Regions from separate parts of the Homo sapiens genome. Here regions 2 and 3 are each linked to region 1. The links are contacts of gene promoters, found by promoter capture Hi-C in blood cells and fetal thymus (Javierre and others, 2016). All regions are on one chromosome and are shown on one strand. The core of a region is centred on a gene start or on the middle of the fragment in contact, and the rest is flanking DNA. Distances in the headings are between cores, read along the strand shown. Region 1 holds the start of SETBP1-DT (SETBP1 divergent transcript). Region 2 overlaps SETBP1 (SET binding protein 1). Region 3 overlaps LINC01478 (long intergenic non-protein coding RNA 1478).

Region 1 (3,398 bases), core at 452-2,951:
TGGATGGGGGGGCGGGGGGAATAGGTGCTGTACTGTGCAGGGGAGGGGGGCTGGAAGACAGTATTTCGGCAGTTAACTTATTTTTTTAGAACCAGCATGCTCTACCGATCAGAAATTGCTATTACCCAACAATGCTTCCATCACAAACAGACACTGAAAACAGCATCCCCGTTATCACCATCTTGCCAAAGATCTGCCCGGTCCAGTTTACCTGACTTTGTCCCTGCGGAACTTCTCAGACAGTATTTCGGTCAAAGAGATAATGGTTTGGAAGACAAAAACAATAAATCGATACCGAAGGGTTCCCTTTCCGGAGTGATTTCCCACTGGAAACCACCGAACGGGGAAGCCTGCCGTTCATTCCCAAGCCCACGGCTCCTCTAGAAACGCACACAATGCGTGCTTTCAAAAAGGCATTCGTCTGCTTTTAAGGGAATTCCTATCTTTTCAGAGTCCCAAAACCAGAGAGCACAAGAAAGAGACTCAAATCCATTGATTAAGATTTTTAAGAAAAAGACTAACACACAGGCACAACACAAGCACACACCAACCTTCGCCGGCTGGACCACTTCTTGCCTGTTCTTCTTTCTATTAACGACACGTTAGATTCTGATACATTCCCCCCCCAAAAAAATCCAACTAGGTTACAATGTAGCTCTCTAGCTCCACTTAACCTGCAAGTTACAAAGAGAGAAAAAAAAAATCCTGCCTTCCCACCCCTTTCCTTACCCCCTCCCCCTCCCGAGTCCACTCCACCAACGCCAAACCCGCCAGCCCCGCCAGCCGGCTGCAGGACCGAGGGAGGGTGCAAAAGGCGGGGGGCGGAGGGGGGGTAGATCAGATTAGGCGAAACTCAATAAGCTCCCAGCCCTCCAGCCCAAAGCTTCCACCATCGCCGCCACCAACGAGCCACTCCAATTGAGCCAGCATCGCCGCCCACCCGCCGGCCCGCCGGAATCGCGCCCATCTCCTGCAACCTCGCCCGGACCGGCATCCCGCCCCCTCGGCCCGGTCTCCCCCTTCCCGCCGGGTGCAAAGTCAAAGACCCAGCAAGGCGACGTGAACTTTTGCATGCAGGGCACACACGTCGCCCCCGGTTCCGGGAGTGCGGGGGCCCGCGGCGCGGAGGGAGGCTGGGCGCCCGGGCTCCCGGGCCAAGGTCGCCGCGCGTGCTCACCCATGTCCCGGCGGCTCCGGCTCCGCTGGCCCCGGCGCTCGCTCAGATCCCGGCTCCCGTCGCTCGCCCGAGCCCCCAAAGGTGCTGCTGCGGCAACTCCATGGCGATGAGCATCTGTCAAACGGCGAGCCGCGAGCTGGCCGCCCTAGCTCGGGGGGCGCCGGGGCCCCCGGGCGCGCGGAGGCGGCGGCGAGCGGCGGGCGCCCCGGCCGGCCCCGCGCTTCCCGCCCGACTCTGCCGCCTCCGCCGCGCCACCGATTTATGGAGAGAGATATCAAGGGGGAAAATGGCGTCTCCGGAGCCCGAGGAGTCCTGGAGTAATCACATTCACACACACACGCCCGCACGCACACACACTCGCACACACTGGCACACAGGCGCGCGGCGAGCCCTGCTAATTTTAGCAGGAGCCAAAAAAAATTTTATATATATATATATATATATATATATATATATATCCCCGTCTCTCCGATCAATGCTTTTTCTTTTTTTGCTTTTTTTTTTTTTTTTTTTTTTTTTTTTGCTTTTCTTCAAAGGATGGGTTGGAGCGTTAAAAAATGTTGGTGGGTTTGGGCTCGCAGGAGGCGGCGCGCGGAGGGCGAGGGCGCTTTTGCTGAGCTGTGCAGTTCGGTCCGCTGAGCCCGGCGGCCCTGCCCGCCCGCTCGTCCGCCCGCGGTCGCTAGTGTTGCCGCCGCCGCCGCCGCCGCCGCCGCTGCTGCTCCATGGCCGCGCCCGCCCCGCGCCCCCGCCGCGTCCCGTCGCCGCCCGCCCGCGTCCCCGGTGAGCGCTGGAGTGGGGTCGGGCCCGTGTGCCTGCCTCCCGCGCCCTCTCCGAATCCCGGACTCCTAGTGAAAGGAAGGGGGAGGGCGCGGGCGCGGAAGGGAGGTGGATCGGAGCGGCAGCGCGGCCCAGCCGAACGGGTACCGACCGTCACCCCGCGATCTTCCTCGCAGGGGGCGCCGGCGCCCAAGCTGCTCGCCCGGAGGGCCCAGAGCCGCTTCCCAGACCAGAGCCGGGGGAGGCGCAGCCAGTAGCGAGCCCTGAGCGACCTCTCTCCCCACTCGCCCCCCTGCCCCAGTGAATTTCTGTCAGTTGAAGGGAGCGGGGCTCTTGCCCGGGGAAAAGGAAAACAGTTCGTGGCCTGGGATCTGGGACCCCTTGCCGCCCCCAGCGCCCCTCCCGCTCCCCGGCGCCCTTGCGGCCCAGTGGCTCCTGCGCGCCGGAGTCCGCCGCGAAGACTGAGCGGCCGCGGGGATCGCCGCGGGCTCCGCGCGTATTCCTGGGCTCAACACTGCCACTATCTGACACAACAGGAGCAGTGTCGGGGGGGTACTGCGCGCCCAGACGTGAGCTGTGATAGGCTCTCGAAACTGGGCGCATTTTTTTTTTAACCTGGTAATTATATTTCACTTTCAGGGTTTTTTTAAATTATTATTATTATTTTATTGTTGTTGTTAAGCGACTTGTATGCATTCAGATCTCATGTGCATTTTCTCGTTATTCAAGAGAATTGGACACTTGATGAAGGGAAGGACACGGAGAGATGACAAACGCAGACTGGCATGCAGTTGTTTTCAGGGTGGGAAGAACAAAGTGGAATGTCTTCAGTTCTTACAAAATATGGTGGCATTTGTAATCTCTGAGTTTTTGTATTTGGCCTACAAAGGGGGTCTTTTCAGGGAAACACGAATGGAACCCTTCAGAGACATGTCTACATTGTAAAACAATATAGGATAGATACGGATTCGGGAAGGTCTGCAAATGGTTCCGCTCAAAGAACTTGGGGTAAAGTTGACCGAGGACTCGGATTCTGAGAGGACTCCTATCACGTTCTTCATGAGAGTTTTAGGCTATTTGGACTGAGGAATGATTTGGAGGTACGTCGGGGGCATTCCCTCACTGAGGCCATCAGTGGCTGCCTCCCTGCATTGGCTGCTGGTTTGAGTTCCTTCACAGAACTTCTTCGTCAAGTTTTTCATAGGAACGCTGCAGTGAAGTGGAGTGAAAGAGACTGGGGATTGAAGGGTGAACCCCTTCCAGCCCCAATCCCATCCCGATTCCTGTCTGGATGCAGATTCAGTCTGACTCAGAACGGATAGTTCACCCTTTTACTGATCCAAGTGCTCTGTCCTCTTTTTTTCAGAGGAATGTTCTGACTGGCTACAAACTTTTCTTCTGTCACTGCAGGACCTCCCGTGGAGCAATTTTCGATAGGTCTTCT
Region 2 (3,398 bases), core at 534-3,033, 210 kb before region 1:
TTGGAGATGTGAAGATTTAAGGGAGTTCTGATAACTGCTTTCAAATGGTTGAAGTTATTGTGTGGATGAGGAAGAAAAATTATTATGTAGCAGTTACAATAAAACCAGTAGATAGAAGTTTCAATAAAATATATTTGAACTCTATACACAGAATAATTTCCAAACAATAAAAGCTGTCCAGCCACAAAATACATTACCTGGCCAACAGAAAGCTCTCCATCACTGGAAACTTTCAAGCAGAGACAAGATGACCTACTAGGTATGCCTAACTGATTTTTTGAATTGGTAACAAGATCAAATCACAACCTATTTTAGAGCTAAAATTCAACACAATAGCACAGGTAAATGGGCTTTAAAAGGCCTAAGCCATGTACATATGCAGGTGACATTATGTCAATGCTGTCTGCACCTGTCTGCACCACCTGGAGTGTCTGTTTAAGTCCTCAAAAACACATTTTGCTTCCCATCCTTAATTCCCATATAAGGCCATTCTCTAAGTTCTATTGCAAAACTTGGGCAGCCATGTAGCTCTCCACCAACGAAACAGCTAGGCCTTTGTGCAACTTCTCATCCATAGTGGAGAGCCAGTGGAATTTTATTTTTGTTTTGCTTACTTCTCTTTCAGCCCTTTAATAGCAAACAAACAATTTGGAGATAATTTAGGCTCCAAATAAACTCCTCACTCCTCCTCTCATGCCCAAAAACTGTCAAAATGTTTGAATGTAAAAGGATTATTCAGGATTCATTTTATAAGACATTTGAGCTTAATTTCTGTTGTTTCTTCTCAAAGTAGAGCACTTCTCCTCCCCTCAACTTTTGAGTCTGGGTTTCTCATCTCGTAGGTGGGTTTGATGAATATATCTGTTGATCATGTGCAAACTCCTTTGAGAAAATAAAAAGCAATGTTCAAACGTTCAAAAATAATGTCTTTTACAGTTCCTATTTCAAGACATCTATGACAAAAATCTCTGTGAAAGACATGTGACCTAAAGAGGAAAAAAATGCCTCCATTATACAGAAACTAAAATGGTTTGGCATTTGTGAAGCAGGACTCTGAATTGGTCAGATAAAGACGGAAAGGAACAGTAGAAGACTAAGCAATAACCCAGGAAATCTGAAAGGTATTTACAGCCAGTTGAGATCATGCAGGCCTCAAATACATTTTTTTTTCAGGAATAGAACATTTGCAGCCTGAGTTAACAGCATAGTTACAGTAGTCTTGGCTCACTTTTGTGGAACAGACTCACCCATGATGACTTTAGAAGCTGTGGCTGGTGCAAAGCCCCATTATAAGACTTTCACTCATGCCAAGGTTGGCTTATAATGAGGCCCAATATAATCCACCTCTGTCCTATATTCAGAGGTAAAATCTAAGCACTGCAGTGCCTTACAAGCAATAGGTACTTAATAATGTTTGCTGACTGAATGTGTATAATAAAATGTAGATCAAACCTAGATGATCAAATATATGAGTGCTTCTGTTTCATTTCATTTTGTATTGATGTGCCCCTCTGATATGGTTTGGCTGTGTCCCCACCCAAATCTCATTTTGAATTCTCACGTGTTGTGGGAGGGACCTGGTGGGAGGTAATTGAATCATGGAGGCAGGCCTTTCTCATGCTGGTGTTGTGATAGTAATAAGTCTTACAAGATCTGATGGTTCTATTAGGGAGAGTTTCTCTGCACAAGCTATCTCTCTTTATCTGCTGCTATCCATGTAAGATGTGACTTGCTCCTTCTGCCATAATTGTGAGGCCTCCTCAGCCACGTGGAACTGTAAATCCATTAAAACTTTCTTTCTTTTGTATATTGCCCAGTCTTCAGTATGTCTTTATCAGTAGAATGGAAACAGACTAATACCCCTTCCTTGTCAAATGTTTTAGCATTTAGTGTTTGCCAAGAACCCTAGACTTGGAATCAGAAGATCCATGTAAATTCCAATCCAGTTTGGTCACTTACTAACACTGTGAGCTTGGGCAATTCATTTAATCTCTCCATCCTCAGTTCCTTAGAGTTAAAAAACTTGAATGACAGTAACTGCCTTCATGAGGTTGCAGGTTTTATTCAAAAATAAAATGCAAAAATCATTAGGAAATTACTTTTTAAGCAACAAAGCACTCTCAAGTGTAAGACTAGGTGAAAAAATTATAGTCCACAGGTCACCTTCTTATTTTCCTTCTTCCAGGTGTAGGCTGAGGCTATTTTGAGGGATCCTCAAAATTAAATAGAGGAAATGGGCATATTTGTTTTAATAATAACTTGATGATATATCGTGTCCATAGGATCTATACAAACATCTCCAAATACTCCATCTTTGACCTCTAAAAAGATTCCCATGGAAGAGCCTTCCCCATCTGCTAGAGTTTCCTAATCAGGTGAAGAGAAATAGGACAATCTCTCAGATGGAGAAAAACCCAGGACACAAAAGAATCTACTGTTATACAGAACTAACAGCCCCTTTATGTTTCACAATGTCGTTCTTGTCCTGCTTTTCACATAAAGATTTGGCGATACTGCAGTAAGAAAACATAAAACAAAACATCCTTGGGGGTGGGGTGAGGGGTTTGAGGAGATGCTGGTCAAAGAGTTCAAAGTTTCACTTAGGAGGAATAAATTCAGGAAACCTATTTTACAACATAGTGACTATAGTTAATAACAAGGCATGGTATCCTTGAAACTTGCAAGGTATTGTATACCTGGAAATTGAAAATAGAATTTAAATATTCTCATCACAAAAAAATGAAAAATGTGTTAGGTGATGCAGATGTTAATTAGCTTGATTCAGCCTTACCATGGATGCATATATCAAAACATCATGTCGTACATCATAAATACGTACAATTTTAATTTGTTAATTAAGTAAACAAGTAAACAAAAATGCTGACTGAATTTAAAAATCCTTCATTAAATGTTGGGAAAATATACTATCCAATAAAAGGGAGAACATTTTTAGAGAAATAGGGATTGCAGAAGAATTTCTATTGGCCAATTATTTGTAAAAGTTGTTCACTGGGGCTTCCCCACATAGACGGCAAGGGTTACCAACATTCAAATTTATCTGTTCTTTCTATGTATATATACACATATATCTAAGAAAACTGTCTTGGGTTAATTGTATATCAATAGGCCTCATCTCAATAGTTTAATTTAACTATCTGTTAAGACTTCTGCAGCAGAATGCAACAATTGTGGACCTCAGTGTCAACACTTTCAGGTGGAGAGTCAGTGCAACTCACACCTAGAAGACACCATCACCACTCCCTTAGCAACGCTCTGAGCTCCCTAGAACAGAAGATGACTTGAGCATCCAAAGACAGTATTTCTTATGACTCTAGTCTACACTCCCCACATGACTGGGGCCAAACTGAACTCTGCAGGGAATCAAAACAGTCTAAGCT
Region 3 (3,398 bases), core at 501-3,000, 170 kb after region 1:
TATAACTGTCAAGTTATTTTTTAAAAGTCTGAATCATATCACTAATATCAACTGTTTGTTACATTTTGCTGTGGTTGATGTTTCTCCGCCCATTCTGCCTGACCCTGGTCCTGGGACCTGATTCTTTTAGGCTTGACTTCTTCCCTACATACCTCCTCCTACTAGTTGACAGGGATTGACTAATTGTTAACTCTTATTACCATTATGCTTTCCAGAACTGGAAAGAACTCGTTCCATAGTCATCGTTTCCCATTGTTTGGTCGTCTGTGTGGGAGATCTTTTTTTTTTTTTTTCTCTCACACGAATCTGAAGTGTTTTATTTTAGGGACATAAAGCTTCCTCTGAGTCTTTGCTTTTGGTTACGTCCTTTCAGATTATTTTTCAGATCCAAACTGCTTTGTGATGGGTGTAATTACCATTTCCTTAAAGACTAAATATCACACTGATTTGTAGGACAATAAATTGAGACAATTATGTGAACTGCTTATCTTTATTTTATGTGATGTAGGCACAGCTGATGTGTCCTCCAGTCTTGGGATGTAAGCAGTGAATTAGGTTTCAGAAGAGTTCAATGATTTTGCTATTTCAGGTGGCAAAACAAAACATACCATCCATTTCTGAGGGAATGGACAGCCCTTTTACATTTCCGCTTTATCCCACACTGTTCTTCCTTTTTCTCCAGGTATCAATGTGATTTCAATAGTGTGGTGCATATTGAGACACTACCAGCCTTGGGAAGACCAGGCAATCCACGTCCAGTGTGCTCTCTGATTAATTCTCTCATTTGATATACACAATCTTCTGTAGAGTTGTCAATACAGACATTATTCTTCCAAATTTCAGGTGATAAAACTGAGGCTCCAAAGAATAATCTATTAAACGGTAATGAATGAGGAAAATAAACACGCTGGGTATTTGATTCCCGGTCTAGGACCAGTTTCTCCATAATCAACAGATTCCAGTCAAACAGCAAAACAGCAAACAGCAAATATAAGTAAATTAAAAAAAAAACACGAAAATGGTAACACCTTAATTTGAATGCAAAGGCAAACAACAACATTTACAACAATGAAATTAAGACTCTTAAAGCTTTTCCAGTAAATTGCCTGATTATATTTGATAACTTCTTTCATATAAGTACATTTTATTTTTACCCTCTACTTAAGTGTCTTTCTAGCTTAATCTTACAAATAGCATATTCAGTTCATACATACATAGCTAGAAACACTTCTTGTGATTTTCTCCCTCCTTGCTCACGTTTTTTTCTGTCTCTCCCTTTTTTTATGATTATGGCAACATTGACAGCTGTGTTCATTGCGATCTATGGCTGCCTATACCTTTAAGTACCTAGCTTGGAAATCATTTTGTCCCTCTAGATTTGAAAAATTACACCCCATCTTCCAATTCAAGATACACTGAGACAGAGCTGTGCTGTCTGCAAGAATATTAGTTCTGAGAATAGGACTGCTGTTTGCACCACACACTCTGCTCTCTTGCCAGCAATAATCAAAGCGAACTTGTATTTCTTTAATGACAAAGCCTCCCGGTGTGTTAATTTGGTTCTCAGTGACACTACATCTTGTCAGAGGAGTGAGAGAAATGGGAAAACATACACTAATATCACTGTCAGCCAAGTGGCACATTTTTCTATGTAATCCATCTCTGGAAAGCAAGGGTCTTTGGCTCCCACCTCTTGGTGAATCTCTAGGATCTGTGAGTGCTGCAGACTCAAACTTCTCATTATGTCCAAGGGTAGGACTTGTCCCCTGTGACTGCTCACTCTGGCCCAAAGAAAATTCTGTTTCTTTGCCATGAGAAATGATGATTTAGGGGCATCATCTCTCTACTGTCCCCTAAATGTGTTTTATCCCATGGTACAGAAGAAAGAGGGGGTATATCATCAGATGGACTTCGCTGTAACTGACTCTCTGATGGTGGGACAATTATCCAAGTGTCAGTACCCTCGTTTGTAAGATGATGACATTGACGCTTAACTCTTAGACCATGGTAAGGATTAAGAATAATACCTGAATTGCTTTGTGGCCACAACATTTATCTACTTCTGTTCTCAGAACTGAGGTTGAGTTGTGAAGCAACAAAATAACAACTTAGCTCAGAGGCTATCTTGAGATATAGTTCTAGGTATTTCAAATGTGGCTAAAATGGGGAGCTGAGGCCAAGAGTGTCATCCCACACAGTTCCTGGAATATCTGTCCGCTCATATCAAATATTTCAAAACTGGGGACTCATTGAGCCCAACCTGTAAACTTTTAAAGTTCCAATGATCATTCTTTGGCCAGTATAGTCACTTGTGTTGTCAATTAATTTTAAGCACCACCTTTCTTCTGGGTTTTGTAGACAACTTTCTTCTACCTCCTATTCTTGGGCAATTCCTTACTCTTCAAGCTTGCATTTTAGCATTGGGTTTCTTTCTCAGATGTTAATGCTTACACTAATGGTTGTTGGTTCTAGAAATCATTATTATTCCTTTGAATTAGCAAATGTTTTCCAAATAGCTTGCTAAAGAGGAACTGGCACTTTCTTTTCCTCTTTCCTTTCTCGTCAAGAATGCTCTGGGTTCACAGCAACCACTGGAGCCTGTCAGCATGCCCATCAGACTGCAAACCAGCCCAGCTGAGGGGAGCACTTGCGGGAAGTTCTCAGGGTCTGCCTGTTTGGTTTGCCTCTTCCTGTTTGCCTTGTAGCTTTAAATAATGCGGTTGCTTCACAACCACTTGTTTTTTGAGTAGGGAACAGGGCATATTTTTCTAGCAGATAAAATGACTTCCCACCATTCACTCTTTGTTATTTCCCCTTTCTGAAGGGCAGTCTGATGAATGCAGGGCAATGTGTAATACATGTTTTCCTGTTTTCTGCTCTTTCTCCATTGGGCTTGTCAGTCAGTCGTGGGCTTGGTTCTGAGGAGGATGTGGCATTCATGAGAAAGAAGTCAAAGAGCGTTTGTGTGATTAACCTTCTCAGAGAGCACATATTCTGACTCCGTGTGAAGATCAGGTTCCAGGGACAGTTAACAATACCCATGATGCTCAATATACAAACCATGAGATGAGAAGTCAGTCATTAATAAAAGGGAGTCATAGAAACTCAGTATTACATCACTATTTCCTGAGATATCATATCAGACAACCTCTGTAGTAACCCACTGGTGAATTGTGATATGATATTGTTGATGAGACACTAATCAAGTGCTTAAATTTACTATGGAGAAAAATAGAGAAAATAATGTGTTTAGGGTCTAGGCCATTTTGGCAAAAGTTCTTTGACCATTCATCATTTCTGATCTTACATCCCACAACGAAAATTTCCCTCTGTATCATTGCCCCCATCTTCTTTGCTGAAGGCTCAGTATCTAGCCAGCTTTCTATCTCAGTTAAGCT

The links. The method cuts DNA at HindIII sites, captures the fragments that hold promoters and counts their contacts. A CHiCAGO score of 5 or more calls a contact.
Region 2: a contact is called between a fragment that was not itself captured here and the fragment with the promoter of SETBP1-DT in region 1, in 4 of 17 cell types (M2 macrophages, M0 macrophages, M1 macrophages and 1 more). The highest score is 7.9, in M2 macrophages.
Region 3: a contact is called between a fragment that was not itself captured here and the fragment with the promoter of SETBP1-DT in region 1, in 1 of 17 cell types (M2 macrophages). The highest score is 6.5, in M2 macrophages.

The regions. Positions count from the first base shown.
Region 1 is chr18:44,678,175-44,681,572 of GRCh38, reverse strand. SETBP1-DT (SETBP1 divergent transcript) reads left to right here and starts at 1,701. Exons shown (of 2, transcript NR_187430.2): 1 at 1,701-1,957; 2 at 2,684-3,398. SETBP1 (SET binding protein 1) reads right to left here and starts at 685. Exons shown (of 6, transcript NM_015559.3): 1 at 552-685. RefSeq lists silencers at 811-860, 1,001-1,250, 1,921-2,560. The HindIII fragment of the contact is 7,071 bases long and covers 886-3,398 here.
Region 2 is chr18:44,889,415-44,892,812 of GRCh38, reverse strand. All of the region lies in intron 3 of SETBP1 (SET binding protein 1), which reads right to left. Among named protein-coding and RNA genes, the nearest start is that of MIR4319, 79 kb to the left of the region's middle. The HindIII fragment of the contact is 4,115 bases long and covers 1-3,398 here.
Region 3 is chr18:44,507,392-44,510,789 of GRCh38, reverse strand. All of the region lies in intron 2 of LINC01478 (long intergenic non-protein coding RNA 1478), which reads left to right. Among named protein-coding and RNA genes, the nearest start is that of LINC01478, 23 kb to the left of the region's middle. The HindIII fragment of the contact is 1,317 bases long and covers 1,092-2,408 here.